3 separate regions of the Homo sapiens genome follow, and regions 1 and 2 are each linked to region 3. The links are contacts of gene promoters, found by promoter capture Hi-C in blood cells and fetal thymus (Javierre and others, 2016). All regions are on one chromosome and are shown on one strand. Each heading gives the region's core, a stretch centred on a gene start or on the middle of the fragment in contact. The rest is flanking DNA. Distances are from core to core; before and after follow the strand shown. Region 1 overlaps BPNT2 (3'(2'), 5'-bisphosphate nucleotidase 2). Region 2 holds the start of RPS20 (ribosomal protein S20). Region 3 holds the start of RAB2A (RAB2A, member RAS oncogene family).

The links. The method cuts DNA at HindIII sites, captures the fragments that hold promoters and counts their contacts. A CHiCAGO score of 5 or more calls a contact.
Region 1: a fragment that was not itself captured here is called in contact with the fragment with the promoter of RAB2A in region 3 in 6 of 17 cell types (total CD8 T cells, naive CD8 T cells, activated CD4 T cells and 3 more); the score reaches 11.6 in total CD8 T cells.
Region 2: a contact is called between the fragment with the promoter of RPS20 here and the fragment with the promoter of RAB2A in region 3, in 4 of 17 cell types (fetal thymus, activated CD4 T cells, naive CD4 T cells and 1 more). The highest score is 12.3, in fetal thymus.

The regions. Positions count from the first base shown.
Region 1 is chr8:56,988,844-56,992,576 of GRCh38, reverse strand. The region is part of intron 1 of BPNT2 (3'(2'), 5'-bisphosphate nucleotidase 2); the gene reads left to right. Among named protein-coding and RNA genes, the nearest start is that of BPNT2, 3.2 kb to the left of the region's middle. The HindIII fragment of the contact is 1,224 bases long and covers 1,228-2,451 here.
Region 2 is chr8:56,073,079-56,076,862 of GRCh38, reverse strand. RPS20 (ribosomal protein S20) reads left to right here and starts at 2,357. Exons shown (of 4, transcript NM_001023.4): 1 at 2,357-2,482; 2 at 2,704-2,803; 3 at 3,095-3,168; 4 at 3,591-3,784. The coding sequence starts at 2,480. The coding sequence ends at 3,773. It overlaps SNORD54 (small nucleolar RNA, C/D box 54), which reads left to right and starts at 2,962; the gene lies at 2,962-3,024. It overlaps CERNA3 (competing endogenous lncRNA 3 for miR-645), which reads right to left and starts at 2,271. Exons shown (of 2, transcript NR_149110.1): 1 at 1,983-2,271; 2 at 1,589-1,856. The HindIII fragment of the contact is 15,741 bases long and covers 1-2,629 here.
Region 3 is chr8:60,515,662-60,519,074 of GRCh38, reverse strand. RAB2A (RAB2A, member RAS oncogene family) reads right to left here and starts at 2,088. Exons shown (of 8, transcript NM_002865.3): 1 at 1,822-2,088. The coding sequence starts at 1,867. LOC124901949 (a long non-coding RNA gene) reads right to left here. Exons shown (of 3, transcript XR_007060922.1): 3 at 2,277-3,413. RefSeq lists enhancers at 655-844, 2,080-2,940 and a silencer at 1,635-2,504. The HindIII fragment of the contact is 4,226 bases long and covers 202-3,413 here.

The sequences.
Region 1 (3,733 bases), core at 590-3,089, 3.5 Mb after region 3:
GGCCCTTGATTAAAGATCCATATTTACTCCAGAGAATAAGAATTAAATAACATTTGGCTTTTCTTTGGGTAGGTTTCTGGGAAGGGAGTTGACATTTTCTTAAGGAAATCCAGACATTTTGGATTTGTTATTAATACTTTTTGAATTCATCATTTCACTGGAGCTGCTATTGAGTTGAATAAAGCATATTTAAAATTTGCAGTTCCAGAAACTGCAAATTTTGTTGAGGAAGAGCTCAGCATAGCGTAGCAGCACCTTATTAACGTATATCTTAACTCACCTAACTGTAGTTTTGGCTACTGGGAAGAAAAATTGTCTTCACTGGAATTTTATTAGATAAACAGTGATGTGCAAACCCAGGCTTCTTTGGAAGGTGACTGACCTTTTACTGCTGATCTTGAAAGAGTTAGGAGAATATTGTCATTGTTTAGTTATGTATTTTGCATAAGGCTTCTTCCAGTCTATCATAATATTGCTTTGGTTTTGTTTTTTATTCTCCTCTCTTCCTCCCTTTTCTTTCGTCTTTTTCTTTTTCCAGTGGAAAGGAACATTGTATTTCCTAACATGAGCTACTGGATACCAGATGTAATTAACGTTAGAATTTTTTTTTTCAAATTTCTACTTAAAACACAGAATATTTCCACTTTTTCTTCTTCCCTACTCTGTTTTTATCATCACAAATAATACTTAAATTTTTTTGCATCTAGATGTAAGGTGTGTTTATGAAATATTTTACCCCCTTTCCAAAACATACGTGTTTCCTTCCCCAAGAATTTATAGAGGAAACAGGAGATTCAGAGAAGTTGCTATTTAATGGTTATAACAGTACTAATAATAACCATTTATTGAATATATTTTACATGCCCAAATACTGGCTACACAGGACTTCATTTGATCCTTAACAGCAACTTTAAGAAGTAAATTTTATTTCTGCCTACTATACAAACGGGAAATCTGAGGCTCGTGACACTCCAGCTTATATGAACTATCCCACATTTTAGCTAGATTTTTAGAAGGCTATTTAAAACTTATAATTGTAGAAGCTTAAAAGCAGTAATAGTGAAATACAGCAAGCAGAGTTGATTTTTCTTTTTTTAAGTAAAAACAAAAGTATCTTAAATGTTGAAAACACATCTGTATGTGTGTGCATTCTCATTTATTAGCAAACAATAAGGGAATGGCTGCCAAGGGCAGTGAGCTGCATTTTATTAACATAAAAGCTAAGCTTTTGGAATTGCAGATGTTGAAGTCTCTGGCTTAATATAAAACAACTTCTTGTTTTCTTGTGACTATTTGAATGTTTGCATGTGCTTCTGTAGTATTCATGTTGGGTCATGACTGAAGGAATAGAAGAGGTTTGTGATCATTTATACAGTGTCAAAGTAGGGATGGTGTCATGTTGAGCGATCTCCTTATACCCCTGTGTTATAGGCTAGAGGCCAAATATTGTAGCCAACTAAGTGGAGAATCAACCTAAAAGGAGTCTTTCTCCTTTTTTGCCTTCCCCTCTCCTAATGCCCAGAAGTACAGTCTTAAATCCCTGGTTAATTTTGAAGCCTCACCCCAAATTTCTTGGTAAGAAACTTAAATTATATCCCACTTAGTTTACTTCCTAGTGGAAAAAGACCATTGAGAAGCAACAGATACTTCTTTCTTTTATCCTAGTGCCCTATGTAAATGTAGAAAGATCTGTTTTCTCCCACTACTTTCCTATGTAGAGTCTGAAGTCTGAGCTTTCGTATGTAATGTTCACTCCTCAGTAAAAGGATATACCAGGGGTTATCCTAGAGCACTCAACTGGAGACAGTTTTGTCCCCTAACTGACATTTGACAACGTCGGAAGACATTTTTGATTGTCACAACCAGGGGTGGGATGCTACTGGCATCTAGTAGGTAGAGGGTAAACATCCTATAATGCACAGGACAGCCCCCTATGACGAAGAATTATCTGCTCCATTTGTCAATTGATGCCCAAGTTGAGGAATCATACTCCAGAGAAGTGAGTGCTATCCTAACAAAACTCAGATTTCACCTAGGCTCCCTGGATTTCCTTTTGTCTTCAGTTTTCTTCAGGTTAGAGATCCCAGAGAGTCCTCTGGGCAGCTAGTCTCCTCTTCCTAAACACTTTGGCAATGCTTGACTTCATTGTGTCAAAGTAATAGTAACTCCAGCCATTTGTATGGCACTGTCTCTTTATCCTTGCAGGTAACAATGAAAATGAAGGCTGAAGATACTTTTGTGGAGTGGGTTTGCAGCCACAGAACAGACAAACTGAGATTTATAGTTTTGATTTAATGTACAGGGGACTGTCTGTTTGAGGGGCTCCTGTCCTCAACTTGATTTGTTCAAAGTTTTGACAATGACTTATTTGAAGGTAAAGCATGGTACTCCAAGCTGGTAGCAGCCACTTGGGTCTGTGCCTTCCTTGACCTATAAGATGGAAGTTAAGCTTCTCTCTTTCAACAGAAGTATGTCCCAGAAAAGTTTGAGAAGCACTAATATAGTGCACAGAGCACTTGCATTGACATGTTGTGCAGTCACCAGCCTAGGTGGTACTGGCCAGTCATTTAACTTTTTTGAGCCATAGTTTCCTCTTCTGTAAAATCAGAATAACTAGTAATTGGTGTAGACATAAGCACTGAAAACAGAGGAAAAGAATCTAGTTCAAAGGAACAGGCCCAAGAGAGATAGTAGGACAGCTAATTCTTGTAATCTAATGAGTTTGAGTAAAATGCACTTGGGAGAATTATTGTGGAAGAGATTGGAAAGGTAGGTAGGGGCTAGGTCATATTCCAAGCTCAAAGGAATTTGGACCTAGTCCATGGTTTACTAGTAGAATACTAAAAGAAGGCCAGATTTAGCTGACTTTTCTTGAGGCCTGCAATAAGCCATACTTTGGGCTTTGGGCATTTGGAGGTAGATAGGAACTAGTTAGAGACTGTTAAAACAGGCCATGGGAGAGATGAGGACCAGGACTCAAGCAGTGGGGAAGTTATGCTGAGCTTGTTTTACTAGCTAACATTTGCATAGCCTTCTGCAAGCCACAAAAATTGAATTAAACTTCTTAATGACATTATTAATTTTATCTTCACAACAACAAAGGAGGTTAAGTACTACAGCCTCTGTTTTTCAGATAAAGACTTGGAGAGGCTAAATAATTTGCCAAAGATTGTCCAGCTAGAATTTTTTTTTTTTTTTTTTTTTAAAGATGGTGTCTCGCTCTGTCGCCCAGGCTGGAGTGCAGTGGCACAATCTCAGCTCACTGCAAGCTCTGCCTCCCAGGTTCATGCCATTCTCCTGCCTCAGCCTCCCAAGTAGCTGGGACTACAGGTGCCGCCACCACGCCCAGCTAATTTTTTGTATTTTTAGTAGAGACGGGGTTTCACCATGAGAATAATCTTAGAGTCACTGAGATTGACATAATGGTCAGAGAATCATCTCAGGTCTGTCTAATTCTCTATATAAGGCGGTATAGCAGATGTAACAAGTATACTCTTAACTACAGTGTTAAAAATGAATGGAAGGACTCAGAGTAGTTGCTTGGAGGATGGTTTGGAGGGGAGCAAAGTAAATACAGGGAGACCAGTTAGGAGGCCCTTTTTCAGGTGAGAGCTTATATCTTTTGAATTAGGGTTATGGTTGTAGAGAAGATAGATGTAGAAGGAAGTGAAAGAATTTTTAGGGATATGTCAAAAATAACTCCTCTGTAGCTTTCACAATTGGGGTTTTGTTG
Region 2 (3,784 bases), core at 1,108-3,607, 4.4 Mb after region 3:
ACATACCTGCTGGGCCACATTTTGCTTTTCTCTATAAAGAAATTTCCTCGTTTACTATCAAAGTAGTTAACTTGTTCACCAGTTCCTCAAATACTTAAAGGATGAGGTAAGCCTAAGAAAAAGATGTACCAGATTTGTTATAAAAAAAAAATCACACTTGTACAAAATTACAATTGTACTTCTCAATGAAATTCCTTCATTGAATTTCCAGTCATCTTTGAGCATTAGTAAAACATGAATGCCGCTGTATATGTTCACTTAAAATATGCACAGTCACCTCCAGGCAGTACTACAGCGGTGGCTGATCACACCCCAGGGAGCAGGGCAATTGTGCTTTTGTCTATTTGTCGCACACAGCCATACCAATAAGTTAAACCTCTAAGTTATGAAGTCTCAGGTTACAGCTAGCACAATAAGAATGCAGGTTTTCAGAATTTCTGCTGAAAATTCTACTAAGAGAGTATTTACAGACAATGGATTACATTTAAAAATAACTGAACTGGGGCCGGGATAGGTGGCTCACACCTGTAATCCCAGCACTTTGGGAGGCCAAGGCAGGCAGATCGCGAGTTCAGGAGATTGAGACCATCCTGGCTAACACGGTGAAACACCGTCTCTAGTAAAAACACAAAAAATTAGCTGAGAGTGGTGCCACGTGCCTGTGGTCCCAGCTACTCGGGAGGCTGAGGCAGGAGAATTGCTTGAACCCAGGAGGTGGAGGTTGCGGGGAGCCAAAATCGTGCCACTGCATCCAGCCTCGGCGACAGAGCGAGACTCCATCTCAAAAAACAAACAAACAAAAAACCCAAAAAACTGAACTGGAAAACATCCAAATTTGAAAATTTAAAATAATTGTTAAAATGGCAGCAAAAAACCTCATACGTATCGTGAGCCAAAGAAACCCAGTTATTAGTTATGTTCCAATTATCACCAAATAAGACAATGCTATTATTTGATTAAAGTTTCAAACATAATTTCCTACCAAGGAACAGAAGACAAAACCTCAAGAAAGAGTCCTGACGGGGCGAGCGCGGTGGCTCACGCCTGTAATCCCAGCACTTTGGGAGGCCGAGGCGGGCCTGAGATCTGGAGTTTGAGACCAGCATGATCAACATGGAGAAACCCCGTCTCTACTAAAAAAAAAAAAAAAAAAAAAAAAATTAGCCGGGCATGGTGGCGCATGCCTGTAATCCCAGCTACTCCGGAGGCTGAGGCAGGAGAATCGCTTGAACCCAGGAGGCGGAGTTTGCGGTGAGCCGAGATCGCGCCATGGCACTCCAGCCTGGGCAACAAGAATGAAACTCCGTCTCACAAAAAAAAAAAAACAAAACAAACAAAAAAAAAAAACAACAAACAGGCCTGGACGGAGGGGTCAGAGCTCTGTCCCTCCCCATTTCAGAGTGTTTGAGCAAATAACTCTTTCGGCTCAGAGCTTCAGGTGGAAAGTAATATGAGATGATTTTACTCTTCTTTCTGCCCTGTATCAAAATCCATCTCAGTGATTTCCACGTATTTAGCCCCGGCTTCTTGCTCAGGTGTAGGTGAGCTCACCCTGCGCTCTCTCCCACTGCTCAGCTCAGTTGACCATTCGGGTTTTCCACTATACTTGGTCACTTATGTGATTATGAACAGATGTTCAGTATTAAGAAGACCCTGGGGGATCTTATCCAATGACTTTATCCAACAGAAAGGAGATGAGGTATCAGGACTGGGTGGCTAGCCAGGTTCCAGGCCGGGCCTCAGGATAGCTGCGCAGCCTGGCATTTTCGCCTCACTTTCCAGAAGGACGAGAAGCCAAGTTCAGGTCCTTTCCAGAAATAGATGTAGATACTTCTGCTGGACTGGGAAGCCAGGAGCTGAAATATCACAACAGGACGTTTCAGGCTATGAAAAATAACTGCTTACTAATTCTAACGTAAGTTATCCAGATTACGAGAAGCATTTCTGCCAATGCTCATGTCAGCTAAGCTCAGAGAAGTTACCTCATCCTCAGAGAGCAACGAATGGTATGGTCTATGTAGAAAGCAAAATTTGCAACGGAAAAACCAGAGTTCGTGTGCACTTTATGAGGAAGAGGGTTAGGTGCACCAGACAGAGGAGTTTCTCAGGTTTCCGTGTCGCCTGTTCTCTCGACCAGGTGGCCCTCTCGGCGCAGGCGGGGACCCCACCCTGCGGGACTTCGGCTCCTCCGTGCGGACAGGGGGCGCCCGCAGCCGTGCCTTTCCCGCCAACTCCACTAGTGCTCCAGCTCGCCCTTGTGCGACCGCCTCTAGGGCCCGGGATATTTCCTGTTCCGGGGCGTGTGGGACCCGGATGCAAGCGTGCTATATAAGCGTTGCTCAAGTCCCACCCCTTTCTTTTTGAGGAAGACGCGGTCGTAAGGGCTGAGGATTTTTGGTCCGCACGCTCCTGCTCCTGACTCACCGCTGTTCGCTCTCGCCGAGGAACAAGTCGGTCAGGAAGCCCGCGCGCAACAGCCATGGTGAGGCGGCAGTCGGCGGCGGGCGGCGCAACGCAGGGCTCGGGCGCCGGGGGGACCCCGGTTTCGAGTTCGTGCTCCTGAGGGCAGATGCCGGGGCGTGTAGGGGCGGAAAGGCGCTCCTGAAATGGTGGGGAAACGCGGGAAGCTTCCGGAAGCTGCCTTTCTCCAGAAGTGGCAGACCATTTTTGGCTTATTGTTCTTTTTCATGTATCTAATAATAGGCTTTTAAGGATACCGGAAAAACACCCGTGGAGCCGGAGGTGGCAATTCACCGAATTCGAATCACCCTAACAAGCCGCAACGTAAAATCCTTGGAAAAGGGTCAGTGCATTCGTTATGCGGGGGGGAGGGGGAATTGGGCGAAAAGCGACGAGCTTTACTCGTTAATGTTAGTGTAGAAGGTGGACTGCAAGAACTAAAGTGACAAGTTACTTAAAAAAGTAAAGCGTGGCTTAAAATTGCTTTTACTGTCATACAGCTGGCGATGAGGAGGTACCTATTGTGTTGAGTAACGGTGATAATTTTATACGCTATTCTGAGCCAGCAGAAGTGAAGGCCTTAAGCCGATTTTAATTGTTTCGATTATACTGAGAGGTCTTTTATTTCCTGTAGTGTGTGCTGACTTGATAAGAGGCGCAAAAGAAAAGAATCTCAAAGTGAAAGGACCAGTTCGAATGCCTACCAAGGTAAAGTAAATCGGAGGGGCAGGAAGTAGGAGTTGCTTCCGGATGTTGCATAAATTCAGGTTCTTTAAGGAGTTCGGCTGCCAAAATTGTTAACACTGATGCTGTCTACAAACGCACATAGAAATCGGTGGTAGATTGCGGTTCCTAGTAAGTAGCTAATGTTTAGATATGATTGTTGAATTATTGTTGCTGTGTTCTTGGTGTGCTTTGGTGCTTAACAGGCGCAAGCTCTAAGGGTGGTGTCCTAGCACAGTGAAAACAGACCTGGCATTTTCAACCCATGGTACCTGAAAATCTATTAGTGTAAATTGGAATCATACCAAAGGGAAACTAATGAAATGATTAGAAGTAATGATTTTCCAGATGTTCTAGGGATAAGTATAAAACGATAAACACTTGGTTTCCTTTGTCTTTTGTTACAGACTTTGAGAATCACTACAAGAAAAACTCCTTGTGGTGAAGGTTCTAAGACGTGGGATCGTTTCCAGATGAGAATTCACAAGCGACTCATTGACTTGCACAGTCCTTCTGAGATTGTTAAGCAGATTACTTCCATCAGTATTGAGCCAGGAGTTGAGGTGGAAGTCACCATTGCAGATGCTTAAGTCAACTATTT
Region 3 (3,413 bases), core at 839-3,338:
GTGGGGACTGCTTTTGGATAAGAGCAAATTCCAAGAGAACAGAGCATTAACTTGTTAGGATTTGTAGCCCCACTACTCCATGCACAATACTTTATTTATCCACAGTACAGCCTCAAATAAAAAACTGAAAAAAGGCAACCAGCAAAGTCTGATTTGAATTTTCACCACTAATGAGATAGCCAAATGCCACAGTCACAAGCTTCTATTTCTCAAACCCACTCATATTACAGTTAATGTGGCATTCCTCTCCAATCTTGTTTTTACAGCCTAAATGAAATTTTGCCAGAAGACTTTAGAATTCTCCTTCTTCCAAATACACCACAGCATTTTTCTTTTAAAGTTTACAAATCCAATTTCCACACACACACACACGCACGCACGCATCAGAAAACCTTGCTGAAAACTCATGTATCTAGCAGAAATTTTTTCTTTCAGGCAGCAATAAATATGCTTTTTTTTTTTTTTTTTTTTTTTTTTTGCAAACTCCACCTTCCGGGCTCAAGTGATCCTCCCGCCTCAGCCTCCCAAGTGGCTGGGATTACAGGCGCCTGCCACGACGCCCGGCTAACTTTTGTACTTTTAGTAGAGACGGGGTTTCACCACGTTGGCCAAGCAGGTCTCGAACTCCTGATCTCAGGTGATCCCCCACCTCGGCCTCCGAAAGTGCTGGGATTACAGGTGTGAGCCACCGCGTCCGGCCAACATGCTTCTTTAGTTACTTATAGAACCTGCCACATCATTAGTTCAACTACAAACTGCTGCTTACATGACCGAAGTTGTGCAAAGGGTCCAAAGTTGTGCAAGAGTAACCACTGAAATCAGACTCTGGTATATTAATAGTTGCAACATCTAAACAATCTTTATGTTTATTATTAGATTCAAAGTAATGCCAAATCACAGGTATTAAAAATATCTACGAAGAGTCTGTTTACTTTTCTGTGAAATATACTAGGACGTCATTTTAAGTGAGAATAACTGAATTTCTTTCAGCTCATGGACATGAGCTCACCTGAAAATTAGCAGTTGTGACACCGGACTTGACATATCTAAAACATCAGCGTCCTCAACATACACATACCTAAGTACACACCCAGAGCACTGAACGACTTTACATTACTATATAACCCCAGTTCACACGTGGCAAAAGTCCACAGAACTCGTTCATGCTTTCCTAACCCCGAAAGGGATTCTCCAGCCGTCAAGTAATGAGATGTGACTTATTCTGACGTGAGAGTTGAAGGTGTTAAAAAAGCATATTTTATATATATGTATATATATAAAATACATATTTTAAAGGTTTCCTTTTCTCTTTCTCGGCTGCCTGTCCCACGCCAAAAAGCGCCTTGCCCAGGCCTTGATAGATGCGTGCTGGTGGAGGAAGGTTGGACTGGTCAGGAACCAAGACCCGGGCCCCAACACCTTCTGCTCCCCTAGGTTTCCCTCCTTCTTTTTCCTGGGGCCGCGAAGAGACCTAACGCAAGGGGCCCTGGGGGTGGGGTGCAGTCATGTGAGTCGGGCCCCGGCGGCCCTGCGCTAGGCCTCCCCTCCTGTCACACACTTCCTGAATCGGGCGTCGCAAACGGCTGCCACGGCCCTCAGCTGCAAGACTGGCCGGGTCGGGGGCCGCAGACCGGGCCTGGCCAGGCCGCGGCCGCTCGCAGTGCCCACGTCACCAGCTCCAGCACTGCGGAAATGGAGCGGCGCGGCCAGGAGGGAGGCGCCGGGTGGAGTCCGCGTCCCCGCCACCGCCAGACGCCGTTTGCCCCTCAGCCCGGGTCCGGAGGCCGCCGACACCCGCCCGGCCGCGCCCGGGGCCCTCACCTGTGTCGCCGATTATGATGTACTTGAAGAGATAGGCGTACGCCATGGCCGCGGCCGCTCAGTGCCAGGGCACACGGCTCCTCCTCCCGCTGCTGCTCCTCCTCCGCGCCCCAACCCCGGTGCCGCTCAGCCTCGAAACGCCAGGCGCCGCCCGCCGCCGCCGCTGCTGCTGTCAGCCGCCGGGAGTGAGGGGCTGTGAGGAAGCCGGACGAACTGACACCCGCAGAGCCGAGGGAGACAGCGCCCGACCGAGCCCAGCCGAACAATAACAGCCGCCGCGGCGCCTCCGCCCCGCCTCCGCGCCGACCCGGAAGTTCTGCGGCCGCCGGCGCCGCCGGAGGAAAGGGGAGGAGCCCCGCACGCTGGCCCAGCCCTGCACGCTGGCCGCGCCCCGCCAGCCGGAGCCCCGCCCCGCCCCGCCCCGCGCCTGCCTTGCCCGGTCCGCCCTGTCTTCCAGCAGGGCGGGGCCCGGCTCCGGTTGTTCCGCCACGTTTGAGCGGGCGAGCCCGGCGGCCGGGAGACGCCAGGGAACGGGGCTGGTGGGGGTACAAAGGCTCGGTTCCGTCGCCTTCAGCCCTGCGGTGGGGGCACGGGGCAAGTGAGGGGACGGCAGAGGCGGCGTTCGGTGTGAGGCTGCGCCCTGGGCTCCTGAAAATGTGTGTGAAAATGTGGGAGGCACACGGCGAGGGGGTGGGGGTGGCCTGGTATTTCTGTGTTTGGCATCGGGGCTTGAAGGTGAAAATGGCAGTATTTATAAATTGGAAACCGTAAATCTGGGACTGCAAAGTAAATCATGGTATGCACGCACAGTGGAGTACTACGTTGCTCTCACCTGAGGTCAGGAGTTCGAGACCAGCCTGGCCAACATGGCGAAACCGCGTCTCTACTAAAAATACATTAGCCGGGCGTGGTGGTGCTCGCCTGTAATCCCAGCTACTCGGAGTCTAAGGCAGGAGAATCACTTGAACCTGGGAGGTGGAGGTTGTAGTGAGCCGAGATTGAACCACGGCACTCCAGACTGGGCGACAGAGCGGGACTCCGTCTCAAAATAATAATAGTAAATAAAAAATAAATAAAGTCTCTGAACCTGTCCTGGTTCTGAGGGCTGCTCTAAAAAAAAAAAAAAAAAAAAAGCCTGACTTAGGTTAAGCAAAACCGAGATGATCTGTTTATGTGTGTGTATATAACATGCACCATATGTAATATATGAATTGTATATAATTTTTATGTGTAACAAATAGTGGGAAAACATTTACATACCCATATATGCATAATCAATCTGAAAGGAAAGCTAACTGGTATTAAGAGAAAGGAGGGAATGGGATTGGGGGGAAAATGTACTTTTCCCTGAATTTTTTTGTGCAGTTTGACATTTTTTGCAGTGTTCATGAGTTACCTATTAGGAAATACTGTTAAAGGAAAAAACAAAATGACTGTGCATTCAAAGAATAGTTATTGAATACTATGTTTCATGTACCGCCAGGCACAGCAACTGGAGGCCCTGTATGTTCTATGTTCTGTTTTTCTACTTTGCTTTTTCAGTCATCCAGCCCAAAATGTCACCACTCTGTTCAAAAAGACCACAGGTTATG